2 separate regions of the Homo sapiens genome follow, and region 1 is linked to region 2. Evidence: promoter capture Hi-C in human tissues and cell types (Jung and others, 2019). All regions are on one chromosome and are shown on one strand. Each heading gives the region's core, a stretch centred on a gene start or on the middle of the fragment in contact. The rest is flanking DNA. Distances are from core to core; before and after follow the strand shown. Region 1 overlaps ST3GAL3 (ST3 beta-galactoside alpha-2,3-sialyltransferase 3). Region 2 holds the start of SLC2A1 (solute carrier family 2 member 1).

What was found. Contacts are between HindIII fragments. The study calls those that stand out against the background at their distance.
Region 1: a fragment that was not itself captured here is called in contact with the fragment with the promoter of SLC2A1 in region 2 in 1 of the 25 tissues and cell types used here (spleen).

The regions. Positions count from the first base shown.
Region 1 is chr1:43,708,304-43,713,365 of GRCh38, forward strand. The region is part of intron 1 of ST3GAL3 (ST3 beta-galactoside alpha-2,3-sialyltransferase 3); the gene reads left to right. It overlaps ST3GAL3-AS1 (ST3GAL3 antisense RNA 1), which reads right to left. Exons shown (of 4, transcript NR_125986.1): 4 at 1,089-1,232. Among named protein-coding and RNA genes, the nearest start is that of ST3GAL3, 3.3 kb to the left of the region's middle. The HindIII fragment of the contact is 7,412 bases long and covers 1-5,062 here.
Region 2 is chr1:42,956,222-42,961,642 of GRCh38, forward strand. It overlaps SLC2A1 (solute carrier family 2 member 1), which reads right to left and starts at 2,647. Exons shown (of 10, transcript NM_006516.4): 1 at 2,413-2,647. The coding sequence starts at 2,430. SLC2A1-DT (SLC2A1 divergent transcript) reads left to right here and starts at 2,828. Exons shown (of 4, transcript NR_033967.1): 1 at 2,828-3,356. RefSeq lists silencers at 1,768-2,407, 2,538-2,947, 2,820-3,003. The HindIII fragment of the contact is 6,533 bases long and covers 1-5,116 here.

The sequences.
Region 1 (5,062 bases), core at 696-3,195, 750 kb after region 2:
TTTTTATGATTCCTCAGTAAGCCTCATTTATGTTTCCTTCACGTATGAGGAAGGAGTGAAACCTGATAACTGAATGTAATTAATTGAGGGAAGGACCAGTGAAGGCGGCTATTACCTCAGAAAGTAAAATACTCAAACTTTTCAGTGGATGTACTGTGAATTATAGATAGCTGGACATTAAGGTAGGAAAAAACTCTTATTAGGTTACTAAAAGTAAGATAGTCCCCATGACAAATTAGGTTGTTTCTAAGGCAGAATTATCTTGTAGAGATGATCACTGAAATGTTTGGTGTACTTTCAAGTCAACAGAGGATTAAAAGGAAGCTGGCACAGAAATTTATAGCCAAATGATACTTTCAAATAATCTCTTAAGGCAATACAGCTCCTCCTATGATTAGAGATTCTTAAGGATATTTTGAGATATTAAGTGGTGAATCTCTCCATTTCGCGTGTCTAACTGTCTAACCATGGTTTAATAAAAATAAAATGTTAACGATGAAACAAGACATTCATGTTCTCAGAGACTAACAGACTTTGTATCAATCAATGGAACGCCTCTTGAGTACATATTTTATGCAAGGCATTGACTGAGGGGAAACTCAAAACCATTTAAGATAAGAAACTTGCTCTAATGGGCCTATAATATACTTGAGGGAATAAAGCACACACATGACAATGATAACTGTGATATGGTCTCTAGAATTCCAAGATGGTAGGTACTCTGAGAAACCGAGAAAAGGAGAAATCCATGTGTTTGAGGAAGGTTTCACAGGGAAGCTGAGGCTTGAATTGGGTCATGAAGAGTGGGTAGCCGGCTGTATGAAGGGGAAGAAGTGAGCAGATGAGAAAGTGAGGATGACAAAGGTGCAGGGGAACCTGAGATGCTCATGGGTGGTTCCAGGGGGTTTCTTAGCAGAAAAAGCAGGATATGAGGTTGCACAAAAGGTAGGTTGATGGCATTAATCCAAGAGGTACCTTTGTCCTGTGTGGTGCAAAGAGTAAACAAGTAATAGAATTTACTTCAAAGGAAGCTGTAGCTAACTATCAGGAATACAGTAACACTTTACTTGTCATTGTCACTTTTTCTTTTTTCTTTTTTTTTTGAGACAGGGTCTCCCTCTGTCACCCATGCTGGAGTGCAGTGAATGTGGCTCTCTGCAGCCTTGACTTTCTGGACTCAGGCGATCCTCCCACCTCAGCTTCCCAAGTAGCTGGGACCACAGGCAGGTGACCTGGAGAATTAAAAAAAATTTTTTTTGTAGAGACAGGGTCTTGTCATGTTGCCCAGGCTGTTCTTGAACTCCTGGGCTCAAGAAATCTTCCCACCTTGAGTTCGAGACCAGCCTAGCCAACATGATGAAACCCCGTCTCTACCAAAAAAAAAATACAAAAAATTAGCCAGGCGTGGTGGCAGGCGCCTGTAATCCCAGCTGCTCGGGAGGCTGAGGCAGGAGAATCGCTTGAACCCGGGAGGTGGAGGTTGCAATGAGCCGAGATCGCGCCAGTGCACTCCAGACTGGGCAACAAGCGTGAAACTCGGTCAAAAAAAAGAAAGAAAGAAATCCTCCACCTCAGCCTCCCAAAGTGTTGAGAATATATGCGTGAGCCACCACACCTAGCCCATTGTCGCTTTTCTGATTCACCTCAGCTACTTGGAATAACAGTTCTCTCAACCCAGAAGCGGCACCTCAAGTTTATTCTTACTTTTCTTCTTTTTTTCTCCCCGTGTTTTTGGTTGGGTGCCAGGTCTTGTTGACCCTACTTCCACACTGTTTCTGGCATCTGCTTCTATTTTTGAGTCAGAGCCTCCCTCTGTTGCCCAGGCTGGAGTGCAGTGGCCCCATCTCAGCCCACTGCAACCTCCACCACCTGGGTTAAAGTAATTCTCCCGTCTCAGCCTCCTGAGTAGCTGGGACGACAGGCGTGTGCCACCACACCCGGCTAATTTTTGTATTTTTAATAGAGACGGGGTTTCACCATGTTGGCCAGGCTGATCTTGAACTCCTGATCTCAAGTGATCTGCCCACCTTAGCCTCCCAAAGTGCTGGGATTATAGGCATGAGCCACCATACCTAGCCTGGCATCTGCTTCTTTTCACTCCTACTGTCATCACACTGATCTGGGGCCATTGGACCATTCCTGTGAATTACCACAGAAACCCCCTAACATTTTTTTCCTTCCATCCATCATGTGTATTGCCATCACTTCCAAGTTTGTCACTTCTCCAGCCAGGACTTTGAATGGCTCCCCATTATCTGTTGCGTTAGGCACAGACCAGCCTGGCATGGGCAATATGGGCAAACTGATTTCTTGCCATTCTGTTATATTTTCCAGGTCAATGGAACTATTTGCTCTTTGTGCTTTGCTGTTTGTGCTCTGTATCTTTGCTCATGTTGGCTTTTTCTATCTTAAATAGTCTCCTTGACTTTAATTGTTCTTACGTATGTTTCAGGGCCATTTGATACGGAACTTCCTTTGTGAAGCTTATCTGTACTTTTTCTTCCCATCTAGATGAGCTGTCTCTCTTCTTTAAGTTTAAACCACCATAACATTAGAGTCTGCCTTTTTGCGATAATTGCCTTAAATCCTGCTTCTACCCACAGTATAAGACTGAAGCTATTTCAAGACATAGACTGTCCTCTTCATCATCCAACTTTGTACATAGTAGGTACTTGGCAAATATATTTTATATTGAAAATAGCTTTGAATCAGGATGGATGCAGAGATAATTCTTTATCCAAACAAAATGTTTATCATTAAAATCTATAAATAAAGTTGTTTATGTGAGAGAATCCCTTACTGAGAGATCTGTATTGACATAGATAGCTTGGATTAGGCTGCACTAACAAAAACCTCAAGACTTCAGTGGCGTAACAGAACAAAACTTGACTTCTCATTCATGTGACGTGTCCAGCATGAGTGTACAGGAAACTCTTCACAGTTACTCAGGAACTGAGGCTGATAGAAACTCCATCTTAATATGGTACTGCCATGACCATTTTGATTAAATGAAAAGATAGTGGTCAAGTGGACACTGGCTTTTCAAGTTTCTGTCCCACTATGGCACATGCCACTTTCATTCACATTTTCATTGGCCAAAGCAAGTCACATAGCCATGCCTAACTTTAAAGAAGGTTAGAGAATTTCAGTGTTAGCATATGTCTGGGAAGCAAAGAGCCAGAAATATTTGGTGCATAGCACTAATGACTACTACCTCATCTGGGGTATCACAGCCCATTGAAGATTAGAGGTAGCACATCAGATGGGCTGCTAGAGACAAACATTGACAGTAGCAAGAAATAATAGCTCTAACCAGGCATGGGGTAATGGTAGATTCAGAGTCAAAACTCTTCCAAGCACTTGTAAATGCTCACAGGCCAAGGGTGTTGATACAAGGGCAATCTGTTACATCCGAGTTATGACACAGTCATTCCTGAGGAATGTCTTTTACAAAACTTACTATGTTACAGCATTCTTAGTAACAAATACAGCAATGGTTCTGAGATAGCAAAAAATAAAAGTTAAATTATATTCAGGGTATTCAATTTATAAGAAATTGGGAAATGTGTAATAATTTTAGGTGCATTTTCACTCAAATGGTTAAAATTAAAAAGTAATCTTAGTTTAACCTTACTGGTTTAATTGAACCTAGCAAACTTGGTATTTGGGGAGGAGGTTTCACTTTTGACAGACAATAGAAACAGTGCTGGTTGGAGCCCTGGTTCAGGAAACAGATTTGGGTTCAGATCTTGGCTCTTCCACTATTAATAGTTGTCTGACATTAAGCAGGAATCTTATTTTTGAGCCTAAGTTTCCTCATCAGTGAAATGCATGGGGCAGTTGTGAGAATTAAACAAGTCAGTTCATGTAAAGTGCTTTGCAGAGCACGTGGTTCACAGTAAGCACTCATGATCACAGTGCTTCTAACCAGCTGCAGCAAGGTTAGAAGAAACTTGAGAAATCAGGTAAGGAGCCCTCAGAAATACAGGTAGAAGGGTTCCCCTGGATTTCCCCACCTTTTTTCTCCCTTGGACAGCATCCCTACGATCTCTTATTTTCACATTTTTCATATTTTATGTGAGTGTATACATTTCTTTCTCTCCTACTAGACCAGGTGCTCTCATCATCCACAAATGTGTACTGAACATAAGCTCTGCCAGGCTCTGTGCTAGGTGGTGGCTTGATAGGTATGAAGGACATGTCCCTGGCCTCAAAGAACCTCCAGTCTAGTAGGACCAGAAGCAAGTAAAGAATACATTATAACCAGAAGCAGAATACATTATAACAAGGGCTGTGGTTGAGGGTCTTGTGGGATCTTCTAAAAGCGCACCTGATATCGTGGGGAATATGAGTACTGGTTTTCTAGGGAAGTTCACATCTGACCTACATCTTGAAAAATCAGTAGTTATTAGCTGGGTGGATATGGGTTTAAAAGGCTTTTCACACAGGCAACAATGTGTGCTGTGGCCTAGAAGCAAAGAATGTGGCTACATCCTAAAGACACTGGTGTGGCAGGAGTATGGAGCCTGTTGGGGGAGTGTGTGGGAAATGAGGCTGCAGAAATCGGTCAAGAATAGATTGTGAAGGTCTTTGTGAGTTATGAAGTTAGAGCTTTATCCTGAAGGTGATTAGGTGCCACTGAAGGATTTGAAGATAGAAAGTGACTACTTTGTCAGCTTTGCCTTTCAGGAACATCACTGTGTGGAAGAGGCAGAATAGTGAATAGCTATTTCCCTCACATGGGGAGTTCTGAGGTTTGCATCCATAGTACCATGCCTACTACACAAGAGTCATAAAATATTTATGCAGGATGAAGGTTAGAATGAGGTAAGACTGGACGGAAGGATAGTTACGCTGGTGCAACATGTGAGCGGCATGTCTGTGTGCTTCCTAGGGCTAGATGAGCAGCAGACCAGGATTTCAGTCATAGCCTGGCCAGTTTCTATTGTGTCACCTTGGATAGGCTTCAGAATGTCATGTCTTCTTGGTTTTCAAATTTGGAAAATGAGGACAAAAATTCCTACCTTGCCAGGTTGCTCTGAGGATTGGAGGGAATAGGTGT
Region 2 (5,421 bases), core at 1,397-3,896:
TCATCTGTTAGTATCAAACTGCATGTGCATGAATTTAAAAATACAGCCGGGCGTGGTGGCTCACGCCTGTAATCCCAGGCCTGTAATCCCAGCACTTTGGGAGGCCGAGGCGGGCAGATCATCTGAGGTCGGGAGTTCGAGACCAGCCTGACCAACATGGAGAAACCCCGTCTCTACTAAAACTACAAAAAAAAAAAAAAAAAAAAAAAAAACATTAGCTGGGTGTGGTGGCACATGCCTGTAATTCCAGCTACTCGGGAGGCTGAGGCAGAAGAAACGCTTGAACCCGGGAGGCAGAGGTTGCAGGGAGTTGAGATCGCGCCATTGCACTCCAGCCTGGGCAACAAAAGCGAAACTCCGTCTCAAAAAATAAATAAATAAAAATAAAAAAATAAAAATACAGATACACCACTGTGAAAGAGGTGTTCCAACATTAATTACTGACGAGGTAGACAGTGGAAAACTTGGAGAACACTCCATGAAGAGCACCCACCTGCTACACTATTTAGAACCAGCTGGCACAAGGGGCCACCTTTGAAGATAGGCAAACTCTCTCCCTTCTGCCCAAAATTCAAGAAATGTTGTGGTGAAGAGAGACAGTGGAGACAGAAATGAAATTAAATCTGATGGGCCTGGGTTCAAATCCAGTTCAACCACTTACTAGCTGTGTGACTTTGGCAAACTTATTTCCCTTCTCTGAGCTCCAGGCTAGTGAGTAACCAGCAGGGCTATAAGGTCCGTGACGCTTAAAGTAGTTTGGCTAAGAACCTGCTGATTTTCTCCTCCACTTTTCTGTCTCCACGTAGTATTCCCTTATCCACTCAACAAATAAATACCCATGTCTGGCATAGTATGCTGAATAGATAGTTCCTTCCCTAGAGGAAGTGACAAAAGTGATCTCTTTCAGATGGAAAAACTGAGGCCCAGAAGTTAAGTGGCCTGCAAGAGCCCTGAGATATTTGGACTTCCTTGCCACTAGCTAGAAGAGCTTCTCACTGAACTTTTGTTTAGTTATATCCCACCCTTACGGCTCACCTAAGATCCTGGGAGCCTTCCCCGGGAACTTCCCCGGGGTCTCACCTCAAGCGAGGGCCCAGGAAGGGTGAACCAAGTCGTCTGGATTTATGGATTCAACAGGTGTGGGGCGGAAGGCCTTTTCCTGCCGAGGGTGCGGCCCAGCGCCACCCCGCTCAGTCTCAGCGGGACACCTCCACAGCCAGTAGGAAGGGCAGTTCAAAATTCAGTGCTACCCCCGCGTCCCAGCTAAGAAAACAAGGGCCATCCAGGTGCCCTCCCAGCTGACGAGATGGAAAAATCAAAGTATAATAGATAAAGAGGGACCGTTTCAAAAGAAAAAGGGGACTTGAAAATATTGTAGACTAGGGGGAGGAAAGGAGGTGGAAAGAAACAATGCCCTACACACAGGAGGGGCTCCACAAACAATTTGTTGAAAAGAAATCGCTCTGCGGACGCTACAAAGATGCCCTGCAGGACAAGCCCACTTACACAGAAAAAAAGAAATCCTATCTAGGGAGTTGTTGGTCCCCAGAGTCCCCATCCCTCATTCCCCAACCCCGTGGCGTGCGCGCTTCCCGCTAGACTTCAGCCTGGGGCTCTTTCCTGGCCCCCAGATCCCCCGCCCCTCCGGTTGCGCTCCCCGCCTGGCCCCGAGGGTAAACCTGCCTCCGCGGAACACATCTCCGCGAGACTGGGCCAAAGCTTTGGGGCCTGCACTCCTCGCAAAGGAGAGCCTCCGAGACCGGAGGTTCATCTCAACCCCCGCGTTCGAGCCCGGGCCTGGAGAAAAGTGCCCTCCCCTCGGCCTCGGCCTCGTCACCGCGGGGGACTGGCGGGAGGAGTAGGGGAGGCCGGTGGGACACCTCGCACCAGGCCGCCCACCTACAGGGGCGTCCGGGCTAGGGGAGCAGACGGAGAGCGGGGGCGGCTCCTGACTCCTCCGCGCGCCGGGGCCGGGGCCGGGCCGGGGGCTCGGCCCGCTCAGCCAATGGGCGCCGCGCTCGGGCCCCCTCCCCCGCACCGGGAGGGGCCGAGGCTGGGCTGCTGCTGCCGAGGTCGTGTGCGACGTGCCGCTCCCGGGCCCTGTGTCCCCAGCCCCAGCAGGGCCGCGTGGACGGCGCGGCGCCCCCGGAAGGAGGCCATGTGCTCAGTGCCGGCGCCAACTACGCACGCGGCGCCCTCCGGCCCGCTAGATCCGAAGCCCATCCCCACTGCGGCCAGCGGCCCGGCGGGGCGCTGCGCTCGGGACCCGCACCGAGCCAGGCTCGGAGAGGCGCGCGGCCCGCCCCGGGCGCACAGCGCAGCGGGGCGGCGGGGGAGGCCCTGGCCGGCGTAAGGCGGGCAGGAGTCTGCGCCTTTGTTCCTGGCGGGAGGGCCCGCGGGCGCGCGACTCACCTTGCTGCTGGGCTCCATGGCAGCGCTGCGCTGGTGGCTCTGGCTGCGCCGGGTACGCGGGTGGCGACGGGCGTGCGAGCGGCGCTCTCCCGCTCAGGCTCGTGCTCCGGTCCGGGGACTCCCACTGCGACTCTGACTCCGACCCCCGTCGTTTGGTCTCCTGCTCCCTGGCGTGCTCACTCGGGGACCCGCGACTAGCGACCGGCACGCTCGCTGTTGCTACCTCTTGCCTCTTGCCAGAGAGCGCGCGGACCGTAGCGTTTATAGGACCCCGGCCATTGGCTGGCGACGCCGGTGTGTCAGGGGTGTGTGGGCAGGACCTCGGGGCGGGGCCTGGGGCCCAGCCTGTCCTGGGCGGCGCTCTGCGGGGAGGGGGTGAGGGGAGTGGCCGGGGCCGGGGCCCCCCCTAACCACTGCCTCGCTCAGGCTGCCGATCGGCTCGTTCTCTCTGCGTTGGGACCGCGGAGGGCATTCGCTGTGTGACTCAGGGCAAGTGTGCGCACCTCTCTGAGCCTCCGCGGCCTTCTCTAGCAAAATGGTGGAGCCGGTACCCGGCTGTAAGGCAAGCTGGGATGCGCGGAGTAGCGGGTGGAAAGCTGGACTGGAGTTCTCACTCGGCCGCTGGGTGACTTCGGTGCACTAGGGATAGTAACAGTACCACCTCGTAGGGTTGTAGAAAGACCAAGTGAGTTAATATTTGTAAAGTGTTTAGAACAGCGTCTACTGCATGGAAAGTAGTATTTATTTGTTAGAGAGACTCCAGGAGGTCTTGCCCAGGGATTGACTTCTCCCTTCCCTGTCTCCACCCCCCACATTCCCGTTTGTGAGCCAAGCCTTGCTTTTGCACCGGCCGGGCTCTCTTGCCTGGAAATGCATACCCATCTCAAACCTGGGCTTTAAAATCACCTCCTCTGGGACGCCTTCCTCTACTTCTCACAGTTCAGGTGAGTCTATGGTGACCTGTAAGTGTGGAAAATATGAAAGGCAGGCTAACTGACTGACATGATAGGACATTAAGGACATGATAGACCTCGGGTTTGAACCAGCTCAACTGTATACTGGCCCGGCCGCGATCCTGGGCGAGTTCCTGGCCAGTGAGGCTGTTTTCGTTTTTTTCTTTAATTTTTTTTTTTCTCAGACAGAGTCTCGCTCTGTCGCCCAGGCTGGAGTGCAGCGGCACGATCTCGGCTCACTGTAACCTCCGCCTCCCGGATTCAAGCAGTTCTCTGCCTCAGCCTCCCGAGTAGCTGGGATTACAGGCGCCCGCTATCACCCCTGGCTAATTATTTTTATTTTTAGTAGAGACGGGGTTTCACCATTTTGGCCAGGCTGGTCTTGAACTCTTGACCTCGTGATCCACCCACCTCGCCTCCCAAAGTACTGGGATTACAGGCGTGAGCCACTGAGCCCGGCCGAGGCTGTCTTCTTATGAGTAAATGGAATTCCCACACCAATCTCATTGCTATCAGGAGAGGTGCAATTTCCAGATAAGCTCATGAAGTGTTTAGCATGGAAGTTCTCATTTACTGGTTGGTGGTATTGTTGGTTTATTTATTTAGTCTGTTAGTAAATAAATAAATGCTGGTCTCAAACTCCTGGGCTCAAGTGATCCTCCCACCTTAGCCTCCGTAGTAGCTGGGAGTGCAGGCATGTGCCACTGCACTGGTAGTGGTATTGCTATCATCTGACTTCACCTTATTTCCTCTAGACCAGTGCCTTACTTGAGACACAGTGAAGGGAAGGACCCCCAGTCCAAAGGTCTGATCAAAGTCTTGAGGGTCCCTTTCCCGATGGAGGGAGTCATGGTGGGCTTACTGTCTGTCGGAAACCGGGAGGCTGAGCCGACCAGATGACCCCTGGAGTTCTCTGGCAATGTGTCCAGTTCTGGCTGAGGGGCACCTTGGTTGAGTATGGAGCCCTGAAACAGAAGGCAGGTGCATTCTGGGCACCCCCCTGCCCAAGGCTTCAATTCCTGTGGTCTCTCTATGCTCAGCCTGGAAAGCTTGGGCCACCTCTCTCCTCACCCCTGGACAGACCAAGTCCTGCTGACTCCGCTGTCTACACCACCTCATCCTCCTTCCCTCCCCTGCTGTCTGCAGGGCCTCCATCTCCTCTGGTCTTTTGTCCTCCAGTCCTGCACCCTGCCACTCTCCTGCTCATCTGTCTGAAATTGTCATGGAGGGAGTAAGGGCCAAGCCTGGCCATCACGGTCCTTCTTCATGGCACCAGTTTACACGCTCAGCCTCGCCCCTCACACCAGCAACTCACATCCACACATTTGCTCAGCTTGTCTCCTCTGCCTGGGAAGCCCTCCCCGACCTCACCATGCCAAAAAGCACCATGGGTCCTTCCTCCTCCGGGAAGTGTCCCTGGTTCTCCCAAGTGGAAATCTTTCTCTCCTTTACCATTTGGTGTTTTGTAGGTTGCCACTTGTCCTCTGTCTGCCTTCCCTCAGCCTGTGAGCACCTTGAGGACAGGTTCTGCAGCTGAGGCACGTGGGTGAATGACTGAAGGAGGGAAGGAATGCACGAATGAGTGAGCAGCTAATCTACCTGTGTTGAATGTTCCTTCCCCTCCAGTCCGTCCTGCTGATACTTCCAGTCTTTCCTTAAGTACCTTTTGGGTTTTGCTACTTCCCTCCTCAAAGTCTCTCCACAGCTCCTTGTTTCTTAGCACATCCAGTCTATGCCTTTTCCCAGTTGCGGGTCTGCCTTACTCAGCCCATGGGTCACACTCACCAAACAGCCACCTTGTCCTTCTCTGGGCCAGCCCCATGCTGGCCACTTTCCCAGGGACAGAGACATGTGACCCCATTGTTAGCCTCATGGAGGCCCCAAGCTGGAGGAGGAGCAAGAGGGGAAATGAGCAGCAACAATACCAAGTCAAGCGTAGAGGGTTAAGAATCTGTACAGGTGCAGAACTTGTACCACAGGGGAAGGAGAGTGAGTAGAGAGAGCATCTGGGAAGGGGGAGGTCATGCTAAGCAGGGTTTGGAAGACTGAATAGGAG